Regions from separate parts of the Homo sapiens genome. Here region 2 is linked to region 1. Evidence: promoter capture Hi-C in human tissues and cell types (Jung and others, 2019). All regions are on one chromosome and are shown on one strand. Each heading gives the region's core, a stretch centred on a gene start or on the middle of the fragment in contact. The rest is flanking DNA. Distances are from core to core; before and after follow the strand shown.

Region 1 (7,384 bases), core at 3,166-5,665:
CAACATGGTGAAACCCCATCTCTATTAAAATTACAAAAAAAAAAAAAAAATTAGCTGGGTATAGTGGCTCACACCTGTAATCCCAGCTACTAGGGAGGCTGAGGCAGGAAGATCACTTGAACCCAGGAGGCGGAGGTTGCAATGAGCCAAGATCATGCCACTGCACTCCAGCCTGGGTAACAGAGCAGACTCTATCTCAAAAAAAAAAAATAAATCAAAAGAAGATTACTCCTTATTCAGAGAGTATGTCCTTTCTGCTTGTTTGCTCTAAAATTGCCAATCTTTTATGAGATAAACGCTGACAGGGGTTGACAAATATTGCTCTCCTTTGTTTTTAATGCACTTGCTTGACAAAAATTAAAAGTTGGCAGCAGTAGGTCTGTTTCCTCAATCTTTTTTTTTTTTTCCTGGAAAATCTATGGGCCAAATTGCAATTTCATGCCAGGGGCAGCTAATGTCTCTAAGATGACTCAAGAGTCTAATCAAGGTGCCTCTTGAAAGAGGCCACATTGGAAAAAGTCAGACCACTGATATGAGCAGGGGGCCACAAATATCTCACAAATATCAGCACCCCACTTCCGCAGTCTAGTATGGCCTTGGATGCTCTCCATTATGTGGGATGCCCCCCATAACTGTGTCTATCACTCCTATCTCAGCCTTTTTTTTTTTTTATTTGAGACAGGGTCTCACTCTGTTGCCCAGGCTGGAGTGCAGTGGCACAATCACAGCTGACTGCAGCCTCGACTTCCCAGGCTCAAACGAGTAGCTGGGACCACAGGCATGCGCAACCACACCCAGCTAATTTTTTACTTTTTTTTTGCAGAGACAGGGTTTCACCACATTGCCCAAGCTGGTCTCGAAATCCTGGCCCCTCGCCATCCTCCTGCCTCGGTCTCCCAAAACATTGGGATTACAGGCATGAGCTACAGCGCCTGTCCTCCTTTCTCATTCTTGATGGTATAGATTCATCTCCTGTGATTGTTCAAAGAAACAGCTGGGCCTTATTTATCCATTTTACTGGGCTGTTTTTGCCTGTTGGTTGGTGGATTTGGGATGCTTCCCCGTTTACTAAATTTGTTAATTCCCTCTAACTTTGATTCACTTCCTCTCTCAACGGGATGGTGATTTACTTTAAGCAACCTCGTCGATAAGGTGCTGGTCAGTGGGATCAGATCAGGGAAGGAAGACAAAGTAAGGTTGGAGGATACAGCTTCCCCAGGACCAAGGCCAGAGCTAGACTGAGGCAGGCTCTGCTCCTAGTGACATCTCTGATCTCCAAGCACCAAATCATAAATGTTTCCAGGCTGTGTGGGGGTGTTGGCCCAAAGTCAAGATATGGCACAACTGAAAGAAGGTACCGAGCACAGTGGCTCACATCTGTAATCCCAACATTTGGGGATGCTAAGGTGAGAGGATCACTTGAGCCCAGGAGTTCAAGACCAGCCTGGGCAACATGACAAGACCCCTGTTTCTACAAAAAAAAAGAATTTAAAAATTAGCCAGGCATGGGGGTGCGTATCTATAGTCCCAGCTACTTGGGAGGCCGAGGTCGGAGGATTTCTTGAGCCTGGGAGTTCAAGGCTGCAGTGAGCCATGATCATACCACTGCACTCGAGCCTGGATAACACAGGGAGACCCTGTCTCAAAAAAAAAAAAAAAACAAAAAAAAAAAAACCTTTTTTAAAAAATAAAAAAGACGAAGGATTATGGTGTAGGGAGAATTTATCCTGATAATCCCAGGATCCCCAGTGGCAAAATCTGGGGATTTCACCAGGAAGGAGGAGGATCCTAATTCTGAGTGAACAGAGGCATCAAATCCCTGCCCCCACCCTCCGAAATAAGACACAGAGTCCCCCACAGATCAGAGATTCTGCTGATCAGGAGCCAGGACACCCCCTATGGCTTTCTTTCATCTGACCCTGAGTCCTCAAGCAGCTGTCTCTGAGGACCTCAGTTTCCTGCCTATAAAATGGGGCTCGCTTTATGGTTTTCCCTGCATCAGAGCCTCAAGGGCTGGCAAACTCAAAGGGAAAGGGGCATGTGAGCGTAAGAGGAGGGGATGAGAGAGGGTGCCGAAAACAAGCCAGAAAGTCCAAGATGGGCAGATCACCTGAAGTCAGGAGTTTGAGACCAGCCTGGCCAACATGGTGAAACCCCATCTCTACTAATAATACAAAAATTAGCCGGGCATGGTGGCACACACCTGTAATTCCAGCTACTTGGGAGGCTGAGACACGAGAATCGCTTGAACCCAGGGTGGGGAGGTTGCAGTGAGCCAATATCGTGCCCCTGCACTCCAGCTGGGCAACGGAGTGAAACTGTGTCTCAAAAAATAAAATACAAATAAAAATAAATAAACAGTGCTTTCTGTGACCCCAGTGAATTTCCATGACCCTTTTGGTCCTACCTTGATATGAGGGAACATGCTCAGAGAGGTGAAGGGATTTGCCCAAGGTCACACAGCAGAGGGGCTGAGCCTGGAAGAACTTTCCATCCAGCACAATCAAGGAAGCCTTCTCTCCACTTCCATGTTTACCATAGTCAAGAGCAACACAGCCCAGGAGGGGCCTCCAGAGGCCAAAGCCCCCTCCCCATGCTGGGCCTCGCTCCTGCCCCTCCTCGCCTGAACAGTTCTGTCATGTCCTCTTGATTCTGCTATGCAGGGCCAAAAACATGAGTGAGTCAGCAAAGAACGGGTCACCAGATCCAAGAGTCCCGGCAGCCCCCGAGGCCAGCCACAAAGCTTCAGTTCCCTCCACAGATGCCAGCTCACTCTGTGGCCTCCTCTCTCTGGGAGCCTTCCCAGATTTACCCCAACCAGTGCCCCTGTGTCTGTGCAAATATCTCCCCCAAATCTCACGTCTACTTGATGTACCCCCCAAGTGCCACCAGAATGGGGGTGTCCTCGGCATCCTGTGTCTCCCTAACACCTGCAGAAGCCAATGGATGCCAGTAAAATGGATAGGGGCTAAAGTGGGAGGAGGCCCTTTCTGCTGCAGGGGGCAGTGTGGTCTGAGCACAGACCACATCCTGGGCACATCCTAGTGCTAGGGTTCCCTAGCATCATCTGGACACTAGGATATGACGGATGCACCCCGGGTTCCCTAGGATCCCCCAGCACAGCCTGATCCAGCGTCTGGGCCCTGCTGACAAGGCTTTGAAGCTGATCCTTCCCACTCCCACTGACTCTGATTTCTCTTCTATCGCTGTCTGTGTTTCCCACTGAGTAGAGACAGCTGCTCAGCTGTGTCCCTAAGGCCAACCATCAGGGTAATGAATAAATGAATGGGCACAAGCCCTTGTACAGAACTTGCAGCACATGACCACCCAACTAGAGCACATCCTCAAAATCTGGGCCACAGATGGGGAAACGGGAGCCCAGACAGGCGGAGGAGTTAGGTGAGACTCACACATCAGAATGACAGCCTGGGTTCCAGCAATAAAGATGGTGAGCATGGCTGCCAAACACGGCATCCAGCCAAGGACTTCCCCTTGGACCAGGACACAGAAGACAAGGGAGGAGCAGAGCCCTAGCAGGATACTAAATGGGTCTATGTGACTTTAGGGACCCTCTGCTTTTGGACTAGCCTGGAACCCAGGTTCAGTCCTGCTGACCTGGCACTGGAAGGGAGGCAGGGTGCTGGCACCCACGAGCAAGCCACAGCCAAGCAGGTAAGAATTAGTCTCCTGCTGAGTTCTCATCACCCCTCAGGCCTGGGGACAGGGGGCTGGCCTCCATGGGGTGAGGAGGCAAAGTCTAGGGAAGGGAGCAGGTCCCCGTGAGGATAGAATTTACCCACCAGCCATGGACCTGATCCAGATGCAGGCACTGCGGCCTCGGTGGTAGGGAACTGGCTTCTTGGGGACAGAAGTACTGTCACCACTGGCTGAAGGCAAGGGACTGGCCCCATGAGGTGAGGGATGCCGCAGTAGCCAGCTCCCAAACAGGGTACTTGGCCCGCAGGGCGGTGCTGCAGCCTCGGGAGTAGCTGACCCCCAGAGAAACGGGCGTTCCCACCCGGCAAGAGGCCGGTCCCGGGAACAGGCGAGGTCCGGCGCCCACGCATCCCCCTCCCCCGATGGCCCCGCGTGGGGATAAGCCAACCCTTACCCAGTCTCGCGGATGGCGTTGGTGAGGTTGGCCCAGGCCACGGCGTCAGGGTGGCGTCCGTCCACCATAAGCAGCTGGCCCGCCGAGACGTCCAGGAGCACCGAGCGGCTGCGGGAGGCTGGAGGGACCTGCCCATCGCGCGCCCAGCGGCCCCCCGGCGCTGGGATCGCCCCCGCCAGGCCGCTCAGGAACGGCCCGACCAGCAGGGCCAGCACCAGGGCCAGCGCCAGCGCCCGCGTCAGCGCCCGGGCCAGGTGGCTGCCGGGGTAGCAGTACATCTGGCCCACCATGACCGCACAATGCTGCGCCCCGCAGCCCGGGTCACGTGACTGCGCTCTGCCATGGGCGGGGCCGAGGGCGGGCGGGGCCGGGCTTGGGCTGAGCCTTTCCGGGATGGGAGGGGCTGGCGCGAGGGGAGGCCTACGGGGCGGGACCCACCTTAAAGAGCCCGGCCGCCCCTTCCACCTACGCAAACCCGGTTTAGCACACTTCCCCAAGTTTTTTTTTTTTTTTTTTTTTGAGACAAGACAAAACCTCCATATGTCGCCCAGACTGGAGTGCAGTGACGCGATCTCGGCTCATTGCCACCTCCGCCTCCCGGGTTCAAGCGATTCTCCTGCCTCATCCTCCTGAGTAGGTGGGATTACAGGCGCGCACCACCACGCCCAGCTGATTTATGTAATTTCAGTACAGACGGGGTTTCGCCATGTTGGCCAGGCTGGTCTTGAACTCCTGACCTCAGGTGATCCGCCTGCCTCAGCCTCCCAAAGTGCTGGGATTACAGGGGTGAGCCACCGCGCCCGGCCAGATTTATTTAATGGTATTTGCCATTTATTTAATACAGTTATCTAATGCAGTCTTTATTCCAACTTTTCCCATTGTCCCTCAAATACCCTTTTTACATGTGTGTGGGAAAAAGCTGTCTAACTACTACTCAAAACCTAGATGCCGTCGGGCGCGGTGGCTCACGCCTGTAATCCCAACACTCCAGGAGGCCAGGGCGGGCGAGTTCAGGAGTTCAAGACCAGCCTGGGCAACATGGTGAAACCCCCGTCTCTACTAAAAATACAAAAAAGTAGCCGGACGCAGTGAGGCGCGCCTATAGTCCCAGCTACTCGGGAGACTGAGGTAGGAAAATCACCTGAGCCCGGAAGGTCGAGGCTGCAGAGAGTCGAGATTGCACCACTGCACTCCAGCCTGAGCAACCAGAATGAGACCTTGTCTCAAAAGAAAAAAAAAAAAAAAAAAACCTAGATGCAATAAAAGATTAATGCATTTGACTGTATAAATTTTTTAACTTTTTCATGTCAAAAAACTCAATAAGCAAAGTCAAAAGACATCTGACAGACCAGGAGAAACTATTTGCAACATATATCATATATATACATTACATATATATATGTATATATATCTCAACATATATCATATAATATATCAGGAACTCTTAAAATTTGAGAGGGAAGGCCAGGTGAGTGGTTCATGCCTGTAATCACAGCACTTTGGGTGGCCAAGGTGGGAGGAATGCTTGAGCCCAGGAGTTTGAGACCAGCCTAGGAAACCTGGCAAGACTCTGTCTCTATAAAATATAAAAATTAGCTGAGCTTGGTGGTGCACACCTGTAGTCCTGTTGTGGGAAACTGAGGAACGGAGAGACCAATATGAGAGAACAGGAGGATGTTTATTTCAACGTACGCACTGGCTCAGTGGATTCACATCCAAAAAGCTGAGCCTAGAACAAAGATATTGTGGGGTTTTTATAAGCAAGCTTAGAAAGGTAAAACAAAAGTAGTTAATCATATAGTGCATAACTTGTGGCCTTGCATAGCTGGTGGCCTTGTAGCTGCATCAAAAGTAAAACAAGAACTGGCTAAATAGAGAGGTTTGTAAAACATAGTCATGCTTAAGAGACCAAGGAAAGGAATAGCAATAAAATAATTTGTCTTTCTCTCTTTTTTTTCCTTCAACCTTGCTCTGGAGGCGGGCGGTGGGGTGGAGGGCGGGGTCTGGAGCCCAGTCCTCTGGCCTTGGCTTTTCGGACAGCGTTATCTTATAACTGTCCTTGAAGTGAGCTGCTAAGCAGAGGAAAACTTGTTCTTCTTCTTTTTTAACCCTTGCCTTGCCACATTCTGGGCCTTAGCTCTTACTTCTCTTGGAGTGAATATATGTAGTACTTATTATTATTATTATTTTAATTTCTGCCTCAGTCCCAGCTACTGGGAGGCCGAGGGGGGAGGATTGCTTGAGCCTAGGAAGTCGAGGCTACAGTGAGTTGCACTACAGCCTGGGCAACAGAGCAAGAAGTTGTCAAAAAGGAAAGAGAGAGAGAGAGAGAGAAAGAGAGAGAAAAGGAAGGAAGGAAGGGAGGGAGGGAGGGAAAGGGAAGGAAGGGAAGGAAGAAAGGAAGGAAGGAAGGAAGGAAGGAAGGAAGGAAGGAAGAAAGAAAGAAAGAAAGAAAGAAAGAAAGAAAGAAAGAAAGAAAGAAAAGGTTTGAGAAGGAAAATGTGAAAACCAGACAGAAAACATGGGCAAAAAGCATCAGCAAATAATTCATGAACAAAGATGTAGAAGTGACCATTATATTTATGAAAAATGCTTGCTTCATTCACTATAGGAGAAATGCAAATTAAAGCTACACTGAAAATAAACATTCAGAGAAATATATGGTGAGAGAGCGTATACCCTGAATGGTACATTCAGGGTAACATGAAGCGATGCTCCTAAGTGCCCAACCTCAATCTTCGGGTGAAAACAAACTCTATACTTAACCATTCAAAAAAGAAGAGGCCAGGTGCAGTGGCTCATGTCTGTAATCCCAGCACTTTGGGAAGCCGAGGCAGGCAGATCACGTGAGGTCAGGGGTTCAAGACCAGCCTGACCAACATTGTGAAACCCCATCTCTACTAAAAATACAAAATAATTAGCCGGGTGGTGGCATGTGCCTGTGGTCCCAGCTGCTGGGGAGGCTGAGGCAGGAAATTCGCTTGAACCTGGGAGGTGGAGGTTGCAGTGAACCGAGATCATGCCACTGCATTCCAGCCTGGGCGACAGAGTGAGACTCTGTCCAGAAGAAGGAGAAGGAGAAGAAGTAAGAAATATACAGTGAAAATAGAGTGCATGTAAAGACTGCTGAAATAAGGTCTGTAATTTAGTTTTTTGATTTTTGTTTTCTTGGGTTTGAGACAGGGTCTCACTTTGTCGTCCAGGCTGGGATGCAGTGGTGCAATCATAGCTCACTGTAGCCTCAATCTTTCAGGCTCAAGTGATTCTCTCACC
Region 2 (7,384 bases), core at 2,013-4,512, 590 kb before region 1:
CTCCTGCAGCTGTACGAAGGGTTAGTGTGGCCACTTCTGTTTGTTTTTGTGATCACTCAGACAGAGAAACCAGCAAACCAGAAGGAACCCACCACCTGCCACACCGTGAAGCTGCGGGGAGCCCCGTTCAATGTCACAGAGGTATGTGCTAACTGAGGACAAGGGTCGGCAGCCTGCGGGAGCAGGAGACGAGGGTGGGGAGGCCAGGAGCCTTTGGTGCATGGGGGCATTAGAGTCGGTTGAGGACATGAGCTGGAAGGAATTGGGGGCCAAAAAGGCTGAGAAATAACATCTCCGGCATCGTCAGGGTCAGGAAACAGGCATGGCTACACCAAGACAAAGGAGGTTCTGGTTTCACTCACCAGTACCCACACCAGGGTGGGCACACACTCTGTTAAAGAAAAGGTTGTGGGGGCAGTCAGCCAGTTAATATTTAAGACTTCGTGATCAACACGGTCTCTGTTGTGACTACTCACCCTGCTCTTATAGCAAGGAAGCAGTCTCAGAAAGTAGGTAAAAATAAATAAAACTTTAGTTACAAAAACAGGCAGTGAGCCAGATTTGGCCTGTGGACTGTAGTTTGCTGCCTTTGGGTCTGTAACAGCAGAAGAACACTTAATTTTCGTTCTTCGTGAAAGTAGTAGTTCAATATAGAAAACTCAAAACCATGTAGCTAAATAAAAAATATTTAAAAATTGCCTGTAAGTAGGATGACTACTAAATTATCATCTACACTAAATTGAGAGTGAGAGGGGTGCTACCCCAATGGGGTGCCAGGCTGTGGATGTAATTACCGCAGGTCTAACGACTCCAAATACAGTGACAACTCATCCCAGGCAAACTAGGGCTGCCCTGGCCAACACACTTGTATCTACCCAGTGACGTCCACTGATACATTTTGGGTGTGTCTTCTTAGATGGTTTTTGTTTTGTTTTCCTTTGTTTTTAGTTTTTATTATTATTATTTTTGTGTGTGTGTGTGAGACAGGGTCTCACTGTGTTGCCCAGGCTGTAGTACAGTGCTGCCATCATAGCTCACTGAAGCCTCTTCTTGGACGTTTTTGTCTTTGTATGTCTAAGAAGCAATCATTTACTGGGAACTCTTTGGAAACCCCTTTTTCCTCCTCATCATGGTATGTTATAGACCTCTTTGAATATTGAATATACTCTGCTACAGCAGCATTTTTTATGCTCATGCTCTTCCTTACTCAGGGTAAACTTCTGTAGGTTTACTCAGTCCCCTAAATTGGGACGTGGGAGTTATATCCAATTTTTTGCTGTTATAAATAATAATTCAGTTCCTTGGGATTAGGGGTGAGCAGACTTCGTCTGTAAAGGCCAGATGGTAAATATGTCAGGCTTTGTAAGCCATTTAATCTCTGTCACATATTCGTTGTTTTCTCTTTTTTTGGTAATCCTTTAAAATGTAAAAACCATTTTTAGCTTGCAAGCCATTCAAAAGCAGACCATGGTGATATTTGGCCCGTGGGCCATAGTTTGCTGATCTTTGCTCCAGATAAATATTCTGTGTAGGCAAATGTGTGTACAATTCTAAGGCTTTGGCACATAATATCAGTTGCCCTCTGGGAGCATTGCTAGTTTATGCTCGCTGTAGCAGAGTCTACAAGTGCCCATTTTCCTGAACCCTGGGTATTATTAATGTTTCATCAATGTGATAGGTAAAATTGGCATCTCATGTTAATTTATATTTTAAATTACTTGTAAGATGGATCATACTCTCTCACATTTGTAGATCGTGTATATCTTGTTGTCATTGTTGTTTTGAGACAGAGTTTCGCTCTTATCTCCCAGGCTGGAGTACAATGGTGCAATCTCAGCTCACTGCAACCTCCGCCTCCCGGGTTCAAGTGATTCTCCTGCCTCAGCCTCTCGGGTAGCTGGGATTACAGGCACCTGTCACCATGTCCAGCTAATTTTTGTATTTTTAGTAGAGACAGCGTTTCACCATGTTGGCCAGGCTGGTCTCGAACTCCTGACCTCGGGTGATCACCCGCCTTGGACTCCCAAAGTGCTGGGATTACAGGCGTGAGCCACCGCACCTGGCCAATATATCTTCTCTTTTGGAAAGTGCCCGATCATGTCTTTTGCCCTTTTTTCTCTTGAAGTCTTTATCTGTTCTGGTACTCTATGTTTATAAATATCTGAATTACAACTTATCAAACTTCAGAGTAGCAAGCATGTAGGTTTTATTAAACTCACTGAGTTGCTTGTAATTTTGTCAGAATTCTTTCAGTATCAACCATTCAGAAAATCACATGCTTTAATTAACAAAACCAAAACCACTAGGTGGCTACTTGCAAAACTAATACACAAAAACCAAATACTCAAGCTTAATGAGAAGTGAAAAAAGCCAGGTTTAATCCCAAGTATATACAATTATCTAGGGGGGAAACAGTGCCTTGAAATGCGGATCGTGACATCGCTATTTTAACGCTGATAGTGACACTGCTATTTTATATTTATATTACTCATTTCTCCTCCAATTTTCTTTTTCACATTTTCTCCAAGGTAATTGGAGAAGCGATACGTATAAGGAAAGAGAAAAACTAAAGAATGAAACACTTTGTAATCCTTTCTGATTTAGAAATTTGCCCCATGTCTTTTCGTTGGGTTGTACTTTTATTATGTGGTTGGTAAGGGGAAAAAAACTTCTTCTCACAGAAAAATGTTATGGAATTCCTGGCACCCCTGAAACCAGTGGCCATTCGAATTGTGAGAAACGCTCATGGGAATAAAACAGGTAAGATCCAGGATGTTTCCAGGTGGGAAGGCGGGTAGACAGTGAAGATTGAAGGTTGGGGTACTTGAATAAGGAAGAAGTTTTAAGGGCACCCGTTTTTCTTCCTGTTTGTGGTCCTCAGTTGTGTGGATGTGGTCAGCCTGGGCAGGTTAAGGCTGCATCTCTTGCCCCAGCCTTTGGTGGCCTAGTGTATAGGGATGGAGTTCTCACCTGTGCTTTTCATCCTTCCCTTCCTCATCTTAGCCTTTGCCTATCTCAGTGGGCTCACCTATTACGCTGAAACAAATGCCAACAGGTCCTGGGGTTTGCTAGGCCAAGTCCACAGGCAGCTCTGCTGGTGGGCAGGGCTCTGAGTTGCTGAGCATGTGTGGTGTTGCCCCGTGCCACCCTCCCTGCAGGTTTATACTCTGGGCAACCAACCAGGCACCTCCCTTGGCTTCAGAGCCCTGGGTTCTGGTCATCCTGAGATGAGCAGTGTGGCTGGAAGGCAGAGTGTCTGAGCTCGGGGAGGTGGGCACCTGTCCGTGCCTACTTCTTGCTGGCCAGGACACTGGGAGATTCAGCAGCTGACTTGCTACTTCTCAAGAGAACCACACTGAGGCCCTGTAGCTGCGGGGAGGCTGGAGGCTGGAAGCCGCTGGATGTGTACTCTGTCTTTGGCAAGAAGACACTGGCCTGGGTAGAGCAGTTGAGATCTACCTAGGCTGACATCTGGGGAAGAAAGTGTGCTTGAGGGATGGTCTCCTCACTGTCATGTTTCTGCATTTCTTCCCCAACTCTCCTCTTATCACGGAAGTCCCACTTACCCAGCTGATCCATTCAGCCACCCATCCTTCTCCTTGCAGACTGATTACAGGGCAGGATGAGGTCAGGGTAAAGGGCTCTGCCTAAGTGCAGATCTCAGGTAGGAGCCCTATGACCTTGGACAAGGGACTTAGCCTCAGTTTGTTTGTGTGTGTGAGTGTGTGTGTGTTTGTGTGTGTGTGTGCAGTCAGGTAAACCTGTCTCACCAAGTTGCATGAATGGCTCTGTGTACAGCATTTAGAGCAGTGCTGAGCCCCTGTTGCACACTCCATGAAAGCTGCTGTTAATATTCATGATGGTGGTGGTGATGGTGCTGGTACCCTTGGTTTTATGGCACTTCACAGACCAGGGAGGGAGCAGGAAGAAACATATCTGAGTTGTCAGACCCAAGAGAAAACCATATTGGAGGCCCCAGAGTTGGAGAGAGCCGGCATCCAAGCATGAAATGTTGAAAAGCAGCTGAATGTCCCCTGCAGGAGAGCTGGGGAGGAGGCAGGCTGGGCCCCTTAAGCTTTAGGGGCCTCATTAAAGATTGTGTGTCTCAGCTACTCAGGAGGCTGAAGTAGGAGGATTACTTGAGCCTAGGAGTTCAAATCCAGCCTGGACAACATAGCAAGACCCAATCTCAAAAAGAAAAAGATTGTGGGCTTCAGTCTGGATGCAGGGGCCCCTGGGAGCTTAGAGCAGGGGAGGGCAGTGATCACATTTAGGATGGTCCCTGGCAGGTGAAGAATGGGTCCTGGAGCCAGGCGTTTGCCATCGTCTAAGGGAGGATCAGTGGTGATGGGGCCTAGGGTGTGGCCATGGAGAGGGGGAGGGAAAAGGACGGAAGATGTTTATGGGGATGGATGAGGTGCCTGGATATAGGAAAGGAGGGCATGGAGGAGTCACAGAAAGAATCTAAACAGCCTTGTGATTAAAGGCAGAAAACCCAAGGGCTTTGGACCAAGTATTAGACATTGCCAGCTATTAGCCGAGTGCCCCTCGGAGTATTTCTTTAATGCTCCAGAAAAGCAGGGGAATGGTCCTCACCCCTCACCTTGTTGCCTCACAGGTTTGAGGCCCAAAGAGGTCAGGAAGCAGAGCCTCTCATGCTAGAGGAAAGACTCCCCCATTTGCTTGTTTTTTTGTGCAAGTCAAGGCCTCAGGTGCCCAGGAGCAGAGTGGGTGTGGAGAAGGTGCTTCCAGCGCCTAGGTGGGTCCTCATGCTGTAGCCACAGGCCCTTCTCCAGAGAATGGCTTAGAGCAGGTGCCAGTCGGGGGATGGGGGTGAGGCTTGGAGGGAGACAGAAAGGCCTCCTGGGCTTCCAACTCCTGGCATTCAGCATCTTCATCCATGACACCGGGCTGGGGTCTGTACACTCCCTGCAGAGGGAAATTTGGCTGTGGGTGGGAGACAGAGAGAGGGAGACCCTTTGTATTTTGGAGATCTGACCAAGGTAGAGGTTTCTCCCTCACTTTCTGCTCCTAGCACAGTATGGGTGTTCCTCTGGGGACCACCACAAGTGTCTGCAAGGCCTGCAGATTTTACCTCTGTCATTGTCCTCTGTCAGGATACATCTTTGTGGATTTCAGCAATGAAGAGGAAGTGAAGCAAGCTCTGAAATGCAACCGGGAGTACATGGGTAAGGAAGCCCTGGCCATGTGCTCTCTCTGTGTTACAGCGTTCCTTCGTTCCTTCATTTCCTTTACACGTTCTTGTACCAGCACCATCACCACCACCAAGAATGCAGTGTCTCTGCAGACACTGTTCTAGGCACTGGGGACATGGCAGGGAGCAAACAGACCCAAATCCCTGCCCTTTCGGGGCTGACAGAGAGTAAACTGACTTAGGAGGGAGAGACAGGTGGTTAAATGTGTGATCCATGCTACAGGGAAACACACAGCAGGCACGGGTCCTGGGGAGGGCAGGGATTGGAGGAGGCTTGGCTTTAAACAGGGTCCTGTCTGCTTTGGCCTCACCGAGGGGTGACATTGGGACACAAACCTACAGTTGTGTAGGCTCTGGCTCTACGGACAGGATGTTCAGTAGAGGGAACAGCACGTGCAAATTCCCTGGAGTTGGGAGGTCTTCTGAACAATACCCAGGGATGTATTCTTTGACCAATCCCTGGCCAAGACAAGTGATTTGAATCCAGCCATCAACCCCAGTGAAGACATGAGTTGTGTTAGAGAAGGATGGAGAGCCTTGGGAATCTTGTTAGCAAGTCAGGAGGTGGGTATTTATTGAGCACCTAGTAGTGCCTGTGCAGGATACAGTGATAATAGCACCCTAATCAGGCACAGGGGCTATGCGTGCAAATAAATCATCAGCAGGTAAGTACCCAGGGCTGGGCTGTCACCTAAGACCCTTCCCAAGGCAGAACAGCAAGCAGTGCCAGAGAATACAGCCCGGAGTTTAGAGAATGCATCACCGTGGTCTGGGATAACTCAGGCAGGCTCCCTCCAGGGCTGAAGCTGAACTGGCAGGGTGAGTGAGATTTGGGTTCAGGCCTGGTGTTGGCTTGGCTTATGCTGCCGCCTCAGGTGACAGGGCAGGTGTTGGGTGCTGTCATCTGCCACCTTGATTGTGTTTTTTGGAAGGCAGCAGAGAAGAGTTTGGAGTCACCAGCAAGGAGTTGCTGGCAAGTTCTAGGCCTCCCCCTGGAGCCCTGACTCCTCTTCATTGCAGGTGGGCGCTACATCGAGGTGTTCAGGGAAAAGAACGTCCCCACCACCAAGGGTGCACCAAAGAATACCACCAAATCCTGGCAAGGCCGGATACTCGGGGAGAACGAAGAGGAGGAGGACCTGGCCGAATCCGGAAGGCTCTTTGTACGGAACCTGCCCTACACCAGCACCGAGGAGGATCTGGAGAAGCTCTTCTCCAAATATGGTAGGGGTGTGGCCTCCGGGCCGTGGATAGCCCAGCGGCTATGGGAGCCGGGCTCTCACTCTGACGTCCTGGGTTCAAGTCCCAGTGTGCACACGACTCCACATCTCTTGCCTCAGTTTTCTCATCTGTAAAATGGGACCAAGTACCCCTGAGCTGCTGTGAGGATTCAGTGACATGATGAATGCAGGGATTCGCAGGGCAGGAAGTAAAAGGTATTAATAGCATCACTGGCATCCTTTGCTGTCTGAACTCTCTAACTTCTCCAAATTCAGAATTGAAGCAATTCGGATGACTTTTTTGAGATACTCCCTTGCTGTCCAAAGTCATGCCACTCGGTATTGGAATTGAGTAACTGTACAGGTTTCACCTGATGAATATACCTACACGGCGTTCCTCCGTATCTGAACTCTTAATTATGTAAAGTCTTCTTATCCAAGCTGAGCACCAAATAGATTTGATAGTGTCAAGGTTAGTGTTGTTGTTGCTGTTATTTCTCAGGCCATGGGCTTGAGGGCCTGTAGTCCAGCTTGGTCACAACAGGCTGTGTTTGTTTGTGGAGTTACCATTGTTGAAGGGCAGGAAGGGAGGGTTCAGGATGAGGGGAGGTCTTGATACCTTTGAGATCCCCGCAGTGTCTCCCCATGTCTATTCAGAGGCCAGCTGTAGGTTGTGGAGGATTGGAGATGTAGGTTGAACACCTGATGTGGGCCCCGTTGTCAGGGTAAGGATGCCCTGAGTGGAGCATGCCATCAGGAAAATTGACCTGACCTCCAAGCCTGGGGCCTGCCCCAGTGGAACTGTGTGTTCCATTCACCAGTCTGCTCACCATATCCTTCACACAGGCTGGCATCCCGGCTTACACCTCATGGGTGGGCTGAGGGGGAGAAGCATTTGTCGATATATTGCAAATGTCCATTTGGGAAGGAAAGACCCAGAGAGGGGACG

What was found. The method cuts DNA at HindIII sites, captures the fragments that hold promoters and counts their contacts. A contact is called where the count stands out against the background at its distance.
Region 2: a contact is called between a fragment that was not itself captured here and the fragment with the promoter of PLBD2 in region 1, in 1 of the 25 tissues and cell types used here (hippocampus).

Annotation. Positions count from the first base shown.
Region 1 is chr12:113,355,618-113,363,001 of GRCh38, reverse strand. PLBD2 (phospholipase B domain containing 2) reads right to left here and starts at 4,415. Exons shown (of 12, transcript NM_173542.4): 1 at 4,112-4,415. The coding sequence starts at 4,401. It overlaps LOC105369989 (a long non-coding RNA gene), which reads left to right and starts at 3,492. Exons shown (of 3, transcript XR_945346.3): 1 at 3,492-3,672. RefSeq lists an enhancer at 3,157-3,656 and silencers at 3,992-4,051, 4,102-4,601. The HindIII fragment of the contact is 12,918 bases long and covers 1-7,113 here.
Region 2 is chr12:113,947,888-113,955,271 of GRCh38, reverse strand. It overlaps RBM19 (RNA binding motif protein 19), which reads left to right. Exons shown (of 24, transcript NM_016196.4): 7 at 61-141; 8 at 2,682-2,760; 9 at 5,118-5,189; 10 at 6,236-6,439. It also overlaps the pseudogene TRE-CTC16-1. Among named protein-coding and RNA genes, the nearest start is that of RBM19, 15 kb to the left of the region's middle. The HindIII fragment of the contact is 5,168 bases long and covers 679-5,846 here.